Regions from separate parts of the Homo sapiens genome. Here all the other regions are linked to region 4. Evidence: promoter capture Hi-C in 16 types of primary human blood cells and fetal thymus (Javierre and others, 2016). All regions are on one chromosome and are shown on one strand. The core of a region is centred on a gene start or on the middle of the fragment in contact, and the rest is flanking DNA. Distances in the headings are between cores, read along the strand shown.

Region 1 (2,806 bases), core at 66-2,565, 710 kb after region 4:
AATTCCTAAAACACATTCAGATACCTCTAGTTCCTACAGAATGCTTTTAGCACAAAAATGATTTAAGGTAATAATCAGTAAATGATTAACATTCCTACCTCTGTGTACATTCAAACAACTTAAAGATAAGCCTGCCAGGAAGACACTTTTCAAAGCCACAGATTATTAAAGCTTAATCTCCATTACATTACCTTGGCGTATTTTTTGCTCTGTTGAATGCCAACAGCATACTTGGAATTAAACAAAACAGTTCACTACACATGACCCAGCTTCATATGGAATTTTACAAAGCCTATGAAAGAAAGGGTTGATCATTTGAGGAAAAAGATTTTAAGCTAGTATGCACAGGTCATCCCCATCTACCAATGCACTGCTTTGACCCAGAATTAAATCACTTTCTGTGTATTCTGGAGGCCATAATTGTTTTAGGGGCACTAGTGGATATTTTAACCAGTCCCTCAGAGGCACGCACACTTTCTATTAATCATAGACTGAGCCTGCCTACCGTCTCTCCATGGCTGAGGGGTGAGCACATTTGCTTGCTGTTTCTCAAGTTTTCATTCCAGCTTAGACAACCAGAAAGAAGATGACATTCTCGCCACAAGGGCACAGACCCTTAGTAACTAAACCACACATAAAGGAGGATCTGGAAAGCTGAGAATCACAAGGAAGTTTGGGAAAAGGAAAAGCACAAATGAAGCGGTAGGAATGAAAAAGGGATACATTAGAAAATTAGGGTCAGAAAAAAAAGTTATGTCAAAGAGGTAGCAATTCTGTAAGAAACAGAATTATGTAGAATGATATGAAATTTTTGGATTTTCTAAAACAGAGACTTTAGAAAGAATAGGATAGCAACTAGTTTAAATAGAATGAGTAATGAAATTAAATAGAAAGGAGATGCGTATTCAAACTAACCAAACATAACAATATATTTAGGGGTTTTCCTCACAATGTAGAGTTTTTCAACACATGGGTACTAAGCACAGTAACGGTAGAATGAATCATCAATGAAGGATACAGTTTCCTTCTCTTTACCTTTGGTAGGTTGCCACAAAGCAGCAGGGACTTAAAGACTGGCCTAGTGATCACCTGGGCTGGTCTAGGTCACGGCCAGTGTTCACTGTGCCGAGCCTATTTCTCAAAGGTCCCATAGCAAATTTTTAAAGTGAGTAACTTTGAATGACGATTTTATGATTTTACCTAAAAAACATAGAGCAGGAAAAAAACATGAGGAACCATTAAGGGGGCGGGGTGGAAAGAGCAGATCTGTCTCTACAGTGTAACGTGCTAGAGTGATTTTCATGAACTTTACATTTCCAGTGGACTTTCATGTTGCTTGTCAGTGAAAAATTGGTGGTTCACGGCCTAGTGCCAAAACCACAGATAAACGAACACTTTACATGTCATATACATTCATAAAACCTGTTATATTTATCTTTTTAGAAATAAGGTCAGATCAATACTGTATTTCTTGAGAATCTTTCTAGTGTTATTCTTTTTTTTTCCTCTTCAAATGGAGCATGACTGACTATAATGGTGATTAATTTGTCTCCAGGTCTGACAACCATGCCTAGCCGACAGTAGCTGGGAAGTAGATGTTTATAGAATGCAGGACTAAAGCCCTAAGAGGAAAATGTACCATATACCTGCCGGGTGTGGTGGCTCACGCCTGCAACCCCAGCACATGGGGAGGCCAAGGCAGCTGTATTACTTGAGGCCAGGAGTTTGAGACCAGCCTGGCCAACATGGTGAAACTCTGTCTCTACTAAAACTACAAAAATTAGCCGGGTGTGGTGGCGGGTGCCTGTAATCCCAGCTACTAGGGAGGCTGAGGCAGGAGAATTGCTTGAACCTGGGATGCAGAGGTTGCAGTGAGCCGAGATCATGCCACCGCACTCCAACCTAGACAACAGAGTGAGGCTTTGTCAAGAAAGAGAGAGAGAGAGAGGGAGGGAGGGAAAGAGAGAGAGAGAGAGAAAGAAAGAGAGAGAGAGAAAGAAAGAAAGAAAGAAAGAAAGAAAGAAAGAAAGAAAGAAAGAAAGAAAGAAAGAAAGAAAGAAAGAAAGAGAGAGGGAGAAAGGAAAGAAGGAAGGAGGGAGGGAGGGAAGGAAGGAAGGAAAGAACGAAGGAAGGAAGGAAGGAAGGAAAGAAGGAAGGAAGGAAGGAAGGGGAAGGAAGGGCAGGAACGGTACCATATACCTTCAGTATATACCTGTGATGCGGATTTAGACAAGGGGACATTTGGATGAAAGCGCGACACCACCTCCCATCCCCTGGAGCACAGTAGATCACTTGAAAATGAGACCAGTGGCCCCTGCTTTGCATTTTCCCTTCCTTGCAGTTAAGTTTATTCCCTTCTCTGTTCAACTGGACCTATCCCTAACCCCTTCTTAAGTTTGATCTCTATGGTGACCAAAGCAATATAGCTGAGGAATTTGCTTTGATTTCTAATTCTAAACTCAAGCTTGTAATAATGAAAAACAGCCACTGATAGCTGTGGAAATTCAGCTTATTTATTTCCCTTTGATTTATCCTTAGATTATGCTGAAGTCAATGTCTAGAAAGGATTTAAGTGCATATATTTTAGGAAGCAGAAAAGAGTTTCATACCCTTAATTAAAAATTTACCTTGAAATAAAAATGTTATATTTTAATGAAAATATATTTACGTAAGAGACTGTGTAGAGTTGAAAGTTGTATGCAGAAATACTTGAAATCAACTCCGGGTTCAGCTACTTGCTATATGATATTATCTTCTGAGTGTTACTTCCTCAACACTAAAATGGGAATAAACCACCCATCATATA
Region 2 (3,145 bases), core at 313-2,812, 690 kb after region 4:
GAACTCCTGACCTCATGATCTGCCCACCTTGGCCTCCCAAAGTGCTGGGATTACAGGCGTGAGCCACCGCACCCAGCCTAATCATTTTCTTTATCTGATAATTTTTTTTTTTTTTTTGAGACAGGGTCTTGCTCTGTTGCCCAAGCTGGAGTGCAGTGGCATGATCACTACTCACTGCAGCCTTGACTTCAGAGCTCAAGAGATGCTCTTACCTCAGCCTCTAACGTAGCTGGGACTATAGGCATGTGCCACTGCACTGGCCTAAATTTGTGTGTGTGTGTGTTTTTGTGGAGACAGGATCTCCCTATGTTGTCTAGGCTCTTCTCAAACTCCTGGGCTCAGGTCATCCTTTCGCCCCACACACCCAAAGTACTGGATTACAGGCATGGGCCACTGCACCTGATCAGAAATTTTTTATATATTCTAAAATATGCCTCTATATTCTTCATACATAAATAACAGAAAGTTGTCTACAAATAGAGTTATCTGTTCAAATCTATGTCCATTACAAAAACAAACAAACTTGAAACACCTTTCACTTAATATTCCACTGTTTCATAGTGCGTATCTTACTGAAGAACTCTGAGATCAGTTGTCTTTTTTCTTTATTCATTACTTTTTAATCTTTAAAATTCAAAAATTTATAAGGGCATATCCAGATGTCTTGAGCCTTTGGTTTTGTCATCTCAGATCTTACTTCACCTCAAAAACTTTTTCTTTCCTTTTAAATTTAATATTTATTTCTGTGCTATTTTGCTCTTTCCTCCTCTGAAACAGTTATGTTTCTTTGATCATACCTCTTCCTTCATATTAATCCTTATCTAGGTCTTCATTTTCATCTCTTTGATTTTGCTCCTGTGTTATGGAAAAATTTCTCAAAATTTTCCCCATTACATTGATTGAATTTCATTTTTATATGTGCTCTTTTCTGTATCAAGTGCCATTTTAATTTTTCTGTTGAATTTTGCATTTTTTGCAGTCTATTTTAGTCTTCACTGTTTTCGTTATTTTATTTCATTTTATTGTCTCCTTAATAACAGCTAATCCACTTTCATAGAAGCTTCTCTCCCTGAATCTTTTTGAGCACATCAAGAATGTAGCTTGTATCTTTGTGACTTTTTCAGGTATTTTGGAATAAACTAATAAACTTGATCAGTTCTGTGCCTCATTCAGTCACTGTCCCTTACCATTGTTGAGCAGTGCCTCTTTATTCTACCTTGTCCACTTACTTCACTTGCATTGGGTCTTCATTGACTGAGGTCCACCATTTCCTTTCAATAAGATGAGTACATTTTTCTTATTGTGCCATCACTAAATACTTGGATCCTGTAATTTCTCCCATTGATTTTTCTTTTCCTTCTGAATTATATCTAAAATCTTGAATTACTGATACTGTGCAAAGTTGCTGAATAGAATTATGACTTCTATCCTATACCTTACAATCCTAACTTGTGTTTTCAGATACAATGTGTAAACTTCCTTTTGTATGGTACAAACCATGAAATATTACAGAGTTCCACCATCCCTTCTCTAAAGCATTGTTCCCTTAAAAACCTAACAACACATCCCTATCTTTTCCTTTTCTCTTGAGAGACATGGTGTGTGCATAGGTATATAATGATGGGGTAGGGGTGTAGCAGAGGCAGGGCTGTGGCTTGGGCTGGTCCAGAAGATGTTTACACGGAATTGGTGAGCCCACCTAGTTTTGGTCAAAGCAAACTTAGACTGTGGAGTGAGTCCAAGCCTCTCTCTATTATTTGGGGAAACTATTTGTTCTTCTCTGACTCAGAGTTTGTCCTATGCAGTATGTCATCCAAAACTGTGATTCACGTTTGTTGCTCACAAAGATAACCACAATTGGAAATTCTGTACGAATTTCAGCATATCTTCTCCAACTCCTCTTCCTCTTTGTCTTCTTCAAATTCTTGTTTTTCTTCAAATTCTTACTGTCTCTCTCTCATTATTAGTAATTAATGTTATTTTTTATTTTTTAAATTATTTTAATTGAAGGTTGACAAGAAGCCTATCAAGAACATCTGGACCTGCACCATTTTTTTTAACAAGGAAGCTTCCTTATTATACCTTACCTTTTTTCCTCCAGAACAAATATCATTGATTCTCTATAGTTCTTTCATTCATTCCTGTCTTTATTGTAAGGGATATGTCTGATCAAAATTATATTTATAGGACAGAGATGATCCTTTAAACACTGACGTAACTAGTAAAGAACAGTTTTACTTTTATTTTTTATATTGGGAGCCAGATCATTAGAAATCCTACTCAGTGTGTGCTCCAGTGGTGAGTCAAGACGGTCCACATTTGGCTCATTGGTCAGGTGTTTATGCATCCCTGTTTCCCCTGGACCATCCCAGCTTATGCCATTATGTTGGCATAGTTATTAATGGTGCTTTCTTCACTCCCCAAAGCCCCCTGGCTTGCATGATAAATTTATCACGGTCGCTCTACTTAACACTATGAGATATGATTTAAATATGAGTCATATGCCCAAAGACCTTATTCATACTTTATTAATACCATGATATAATTTTAATGGAATTAAACTTGGACAAGTGTAAATTATACCTGATTAAATTTAACTGCAATTCAATTACTAATACCCTAATTATGCTTACATGACACTTGAATGGGTCAATGGGTCATGCTACCTACAAGGGTCAAAGCAGATTGCCAAATCCTAATTGGTGGGCTAGTGTTTTGTGTATGCTAGCTAATAATATGAAACTTTCATATTCATATGTTTGCTCTTTAATTCTAAAAACCTTAGATGGGCCCCATTGGGTCAGAATTACATATCAGATGACTGAACTACAGTTGTCCCAGCATTAAAGTTCCCATACCTCCCCTGATAGTTCGCTTTGCTACCATGCAGAGACAGGGCCTTGCCAGAGCCTACCTATTGCAGGCCTACACTAAGAATTTATTATGGGGAAGAGTTGATCCCTCTCAAAACATATCACCCAACGTAGTGCTTGTATAGAACTTTTAGATTAAGGTCAGGATAAATAATATCCCAAATAATCCAAACATGTAGAGTCAGCAGAAATGAATTCAATTCCCACTTTTGCTGATTATTAACTTTTGTCCTTGGAGAAGTTATTTAACTTCACTCATCCTCAGTTTCTTT
Region 3 (2,794 bases), core at 140-2,639, 740 kb after region 4:
TCAGGAGGGTACATGTGCATGTTTGTTACATGGATATATTGCATAATGGTGGGATCTGGGCTTCTAGTGTATTTATTGCTTTCTTGGTACAGACTTCTTCTTGCTCTGATGGTGTCAGCTACCCTTTACAGCATCACAGAACTGCACATATTTTTCCATAGATGTTCTGATCTATGAACATCTGTGAAGAGACTCCTCTTTCTGAGTGCACTTTGTAAAGTGATTGATATATTATTGCTAGTGTGAAAGGGATGACCAACCAAAATGACAACAACAAAAAAAATCATAGGTTTATATGGAAGAATTTGGAATCTCAATTTTGAAAGCAGATTAAAAATTATAAAATTTTCACACTACTAAAAAAAAGTGACTACTGTATTTACCCATGTATTTACTCCTTGACATTTTATTGGCTATCTACTGTGTACCTGGAAGCTAATCATTGGGATTTGAGGATGCATGTGATAGACAGAGTTCTGTTAAAGGAGAGAATCATATTAGCAAATGATGACTATGAAATGTGATAGGTAGATAATACAGATGTGTGCTAATATCACAGGAATAGAAAAAGCAAGAATAGTGCACCCTGTATAGAAGTCAGGAAAGGTTTCAAAAAGAAAGTAATTTTTGAGCTAAGTCTTTAAGAGGGTATAATGAATGTGGAAAAGCCTTTACATAAAGCTCACACCTTAGAGATGTCAAGTTGCATATTGTAATTTTTAAGAGAAAATTAATAAAAATAAAAAGAGAAACCTCAGGGCAAAAGGAAAAAATTCAATGTTTGAATTTTAATGTATCTAAATCCAGACAATCACAATGGTCACCCACAAATTGCTATGCTCATCACTTAAAAGAAAAAATGAACTGATTATTCTTTCAAAGCTTGAATCCACTGACATTTTTGCTCACATGAACAGCCTGTTTTTGGTATTGTTTATGTCTGTTTGACAAAGATGTAAATAACATTAATATATCATAACTGTTTCTAGTTTTATTAAAAATGAGATTAGTAAAAATGCTGTATTACTGGCATTGAACATGAACTTCCGTTTTTTCCACTCTAGTGAGACAGTTACCCTCTACTATTCTGCCAGTCTTTCCCCATAGGTTTTTCTATTGGATATACTTCCAAGAGTCACAATAATAGTGAGTCGCCATAAAAAAAAAAGTTTTTTTAAAGCCTGTCCTTTTTCCTTACTCATTGCACTAGAATGAGTTTGCAATTTTATTGGGAAATTTACAATGTCTTTCCCTATAATGATATAAGAATGAAAAGTTGAATAGGCAGGATACGAACTGCTTCCTGTGCAGGAGAAATCTCCTTAGAAGATGTGCATATCAACAATAGATTTTTGTGATATAGTTGGTTAATATATAAGCTGACATCAGACTGATGTGAGCTATGCAAACACCATAATATTGTCTTGCTGTTGTACTGCATTTTCTTTTTTAGATTTCAAAGTTAGAGCATATACATCATCTCTTTTTCTTTCCTTTAATGCCTCATGAGATGAAAGACATGAGTTTAAGTGTGACTTCATGATTTTTCCCAAGATTATAACATACCTAGTAAAGGAAAGAGTTAGGACTAATCTCCCATTCCTGAATACTGGTTAATTGACCTGTGAACAAAATAACATTTGTCTCTTGCAGACTGGTCTATATTTAAATTTAATTTTCAGCAACCAATTTTATGAATTATTGGTGTGAATTTATGAATGGTGACCCGAACAGAGTTGTTTATAACATTTTATTTAATTTGATTTCTGCCTGAGCATTACGATGATCCAGCTTTCTACCTAACCCTATACTCTATAGACACCAACAATTAGAAAGTCAGATTTTAAATCCAAACTAAACTAGTTGCAAAATATGCAACAGTAAATGGTAGAAACAAAAGCTTGGGATATTTTAAGGAATATTTTATGTAAGTTACAGTAACTAGAGGGCAGTAAAATTGATGCATTGATGCTAACATACCAAACTAGTATGGCAATTACAGTTCTATTTGGAAATAGCACATAAATGCTGAAGTAGAAACTTACGACTTTAAACAAAATTTATGTACATTTGTACTGTTTATTTTGTGTCATCTCCTACAAGAAAACATATTTACAGATGATAGGCATAGATTGTTTTTACTCAAGTAGATACATATTAACTACAAAGTGTTTGTCCCAGAAAATAACTTTTAAAATATGTGTCAAAATTACATTTATTTACAGTTTTTCTATTCCAAATATTTTGCATTTTTCTCAACACAGAGATTTATGTCACTAACTCTACTCTTTCAGATTGGTGGCAGGTATCTGAAACTCAAATTTCCATGGGTACCAGACAAGTTTTGTTGCTTTTTTTTTTAAATGTCATCTTGCTCTTAAATATTAGCAAGTGATAGTGATGGTGGCCAACTACAAGGTATATGCCCAACTAAAAGCCAGACTCTGCCATGTTAAAATATGAACACAGTGTTACCATGTCTTCAGAGTTTTTAAAAGCAGAAAAAATTTTTTATTTTTGTAGATGTTACCTAATTCGAAACTTTAAAATCACTGTGTGGGCCAAATAAAGCACATCCCCAGGCCTCAGCGGGCATGTAGGCCTCTAGGCGGAGACATGATTCTATAGAAATGATCACGGTGCCCCTCATAGGGACCTTGGTTCTGATCAGGTGCACATTCTCCTTTGCTACTTCACTGTTTAATTGGTACTTCCTATTTCTCAGTGTGTGCATAAGAAAGCCATAGAATATTCCCACTATATGCCTAATAGATGGAAAGACTTGTCACAGAGG
Region 4 (2,940 bases), core at 208-2,707:
ATGGTACTTTCATAAACCCTTTATATCATCTCTGTCAATTAGTTTTTGTCAGGACTTTTTGGAGTGTCATTTATAAATAAAGAAAATAAAGCTTACTCAAGTTAAATAATTGGCTTAATTTGTACAAAAATTGAAATCAAGTTTTGTAGTTCTAAATCCCAAAGACTTGTTCATTGGACTTCCCGCTCAATTACTGATTTGCCAGGTAGCCTCAGCAAATTACTCCTTATAGGTCTTACTTGTAAAAACAGCAGCTGGATTATAGAATCTTTAATTAAGGCTAGTCATAGCAGGTATGGTGCCCAGGATTCTGTTTATTACAGGGCCCACTTTCCTTCTACTTTGCCATAAATTGCTCTCCTGAATGAACAGCAGTGGGGTAAAGTATCCACAAGAAGCACCACCCAAACTCTTTCCCATTTCAAGATATTTTTCAGTCCAATATCCAAACTGGAACCCATCATTTTCGTTAATGAAAGGGGCCCATCGGTGTGTCATTCCACATGCACTCATCATTTGTCTTGTTTTGACCAATGTTCTAAGTTTTGAAGCTAACACAACCAGTCACACTATCACTTCTAAAAGAAAACCTCCAGAAGAGATGCATTTTATAGAGCAAAACAATGCAAAAACAACAACAACAATCTCTGTTGATCTAGTCAATACCAAAATGCCCAACTGACTAAACTGAGCACACCACTGCCAATCACATCAATGCCTCTACTTTTATACTATCTATTCCTTTGGGAAAATCAATCTTGAAATCTCTGTTATTTAGAATAAGAGATAGGATTCTTAGAAGAAGTGTACAACAATCTGCATAACCTTTCCTCCATTTTATACTATCATTGTACCATGTAATGTAAGTCATTGTCATATAGGGTTTCTAGAATTTTACACTAACAGAGAATGTTGGTTTCAGAAGCTTACCTGATGGAATTAGAAAACTGACGGCACATGCCATGCAAACACCCACAGACCACGGCTGCTCTTGAAGTATACTCTTGAAGTAACTCTCCTAATGCACGTCCACAATTTCAAATCTCTGTCCTCCTGCTGGGGACCCTAAGGGTGTGTATGGGATGGGGCAGGTGGGAGTGGATGGGAAAGGCTGGCAGCGGATAGCGGCTATCACCATTCTGGGACTGGACACAGCAGCAAGAAAAAGGCACTTACTTGCTACGAAGCGACAGGTCTCCACCAGTGCCTGAGGGACCCTTCAGGAGCAGGGCTCCTTGGAGCCCTTTCCTCCTCCTGGGCTTCTCTTTCTCCACGGATCTCTCGGGTTTTCTGAGCTCTAGTTGTACAGAAGCTGCTGTTAGGCTGGCGTCTGTCCTCACCAGCTGTGGCTCTGCAGTAAATGGGCCCCACTAAATGGCCAGTTAGACACCGACTCACTGGGGCGACTCTCCAGCCACTGACCCAGAGACCCCTCCTACCCAGATGTCCAGTGGAGCCGCGCCCGCTGCTTGGAAGCTGTTTTTGTCTCCTTTCCACTCCTCCCTCCCCTCTCCCAGCCACTCCACTCTCTCCCCCGCCCTAATCTCCAGGCCAGTGAGCGACTTCAGCATCCAGATCGGGCGTGGGCGGGTGATATTGACAGAGACCTGCTGCAGATGCAGTAACAGCAGCAGCTGTGGCGTCTCCTCCAGCAGCTGCCGGGAAGGGAGGGAGGAAGAGGAGCGGGGGGCTGATGAGGAGGGGTAGAGGGGAGAGGGCCTGCAGAGCGTGAAGGAATGAAGGGGCTAGGGAACATCCAAGGAGGAGAGGAAAAGGAGCAGCGCGGTGCAGCTGAGGGGGAAGGGAGAGTGAAAATGAGGGAGAGGAGAGGAAGACAGAAAACTCTGGTTCTTTAACCTCCAGTTGTATTCTCTCTCCCCTTGCCTAGGTGCCCCAGCAGAACTTAGAGGGGCAATTGTCAGCCTGCAGCATTCAAATCTGGACATTGCTGTAATTAAGAGTTTGTAATCCTGTTGTTGTGTGAGTATGTGTGTAGCTGTTTTTAGGAGAGTCAAGAGTCAGCTGGAGCTGGCTTTTACTCTGGATCAGTTTCCCACTCTAGTGATTTGAAACACGAGGGACAGAGGAAAAATTATGTTTATTTTAGAAAACTGCGGCAATACAGTGTAGTTTGGGAGTGAAGGCCAGAGGGGTTGCACCTTCTTCCCAAAGGCCACACCATAGAACCTTCATTTTGTAACCCTATTTTATGCACACATCACATCACTTACTTCAAAAATATATCAGCATATGTCTCTGAATGGTAAGAACTTAAGATTTTAACTCAATACCCTGATCACATCTATAATTAGCAATAATTATTTTGTAGCATCAAACATTCACTTGATTTCTTTATAATGGACAATTGACTGACTGCAGGCTTCTCTTCTCCACACTCTGGTGATGATGCAAATGAATTTTCTAGAGCATAAAACCTTCCCTTAGAGCAGTCTGACACATATATCCCTTTTCACCCAGTAAAATTCTACACACCTTTCTGTACATTCAAACACAATATAAATTTAATGAACTTAATATCAAATATTTCAAAGTTTCCATGTGATATTTAAAATAAATAAAAAGAAGTACTGCTTTTTATAATGTGTAATGAACAGGCAGTTGATCCCAAGATATTGTACAAACCAATCACATAAATGAGAGGCAAATAGATGGGAAACTAATGGTGTTGGTTTTATATTCTGAGTTAGCTAGCCATTTTCTTGTTTTGGAACAAATATTTGTTTTGGGACAAATATTTGGCACTACGGTTATATAACGGTTATGTAATATTACCAGGTTGGATCTGAAAAGTTTTGGCAATTATCGTGCCCCTAATAATGAGCTGAGGATCCTTCCTCCCCCACTGAGTTTCTCAGCAGGAGGAACTACATAGTGGAGGGTCTGTTTTCAACATTTCTGCCTTAAGAACTTTATAAGCAT

What was found. The method cuts DNA at HindIII sites, captures the fragments that hold promoters and counts their contacts. A CHiCAGO score of 5 or more calls a contact.
Region 1: a fragment that was not itself captured here is called in contact with the fragment with the promoter of SCN7A in region 4 in 1 of 17 cell types (fetal thymus); the score reaches 5.3 in fetal thymus.
Region 2: a contact is called between a fragment that was not itself captured here and the fragment with the promoter of SCN7A in region 4, in 1 of 17 cell types (fetal thymus). The highest score is 5.1, in fetal thymus.
Region 3: a fragment that was not itself captured here is called in contact with the fragment with the promoter of SCN7A in region 4 in 1 of 17 cell types (fetal thymus); the score reaches 7.7 in fetal thymus.

The regions. Positions count from the first base shown.
Region 1 is chr2:167,199,197-167,202,002 of GRCh38, forward strand. The region is part of intron 3 of XIRP2 (xin actin binding repeat containing 2); the gene reads left to right. Among named protein-coding and RNA genes, the nearest start is that of XIRP2-AS1, 60 kb to the left of the region's middle. The HindIII fragment of the contact is 2,293 bases long and covers 170-2,462 here.
Region 2 is chr2:167,179,542-167,182,686 of GRCh38, forward strand. All of the region lies in intron 3 of XIRP2 (xin actin binding repeat containing 2), which reads left to right. Among named protein-coding and RNA genes, the nearest start is that of XIRP2-AS1, 40 kb to the left of the region's middle. The HindIII fragment of the contact is 1,008 bases long and covers 1,059-2,066 here.
Region 3 is chr2:167,235,083-167,237,876 of GRCh38, forward strand. All of the region lies in intron 5 of XIRP2 (xin actin binding repeat containing 2), which reads left to right. Among named protein-coding and RNA genes, the nearest start is that of B3GALT1, 57 kb to the right of the region's middle. The HindIII fragment of the contact is 1,018 bases long and covers 881-1,898 here.
Region 4 is chr2:166,492,792-166,495,731 of GRCh38, forward strand. It overlaps SCN7A (sodium voltage-gated channel alpha subunit 7), which reads right to left and starts at 1,458. Exons shown (of 26, transcript NM_002976.4): 1 at 1,177-1,458. The HindIII fragment of the contact is 2,984 bases long and covers 924-2,940 here.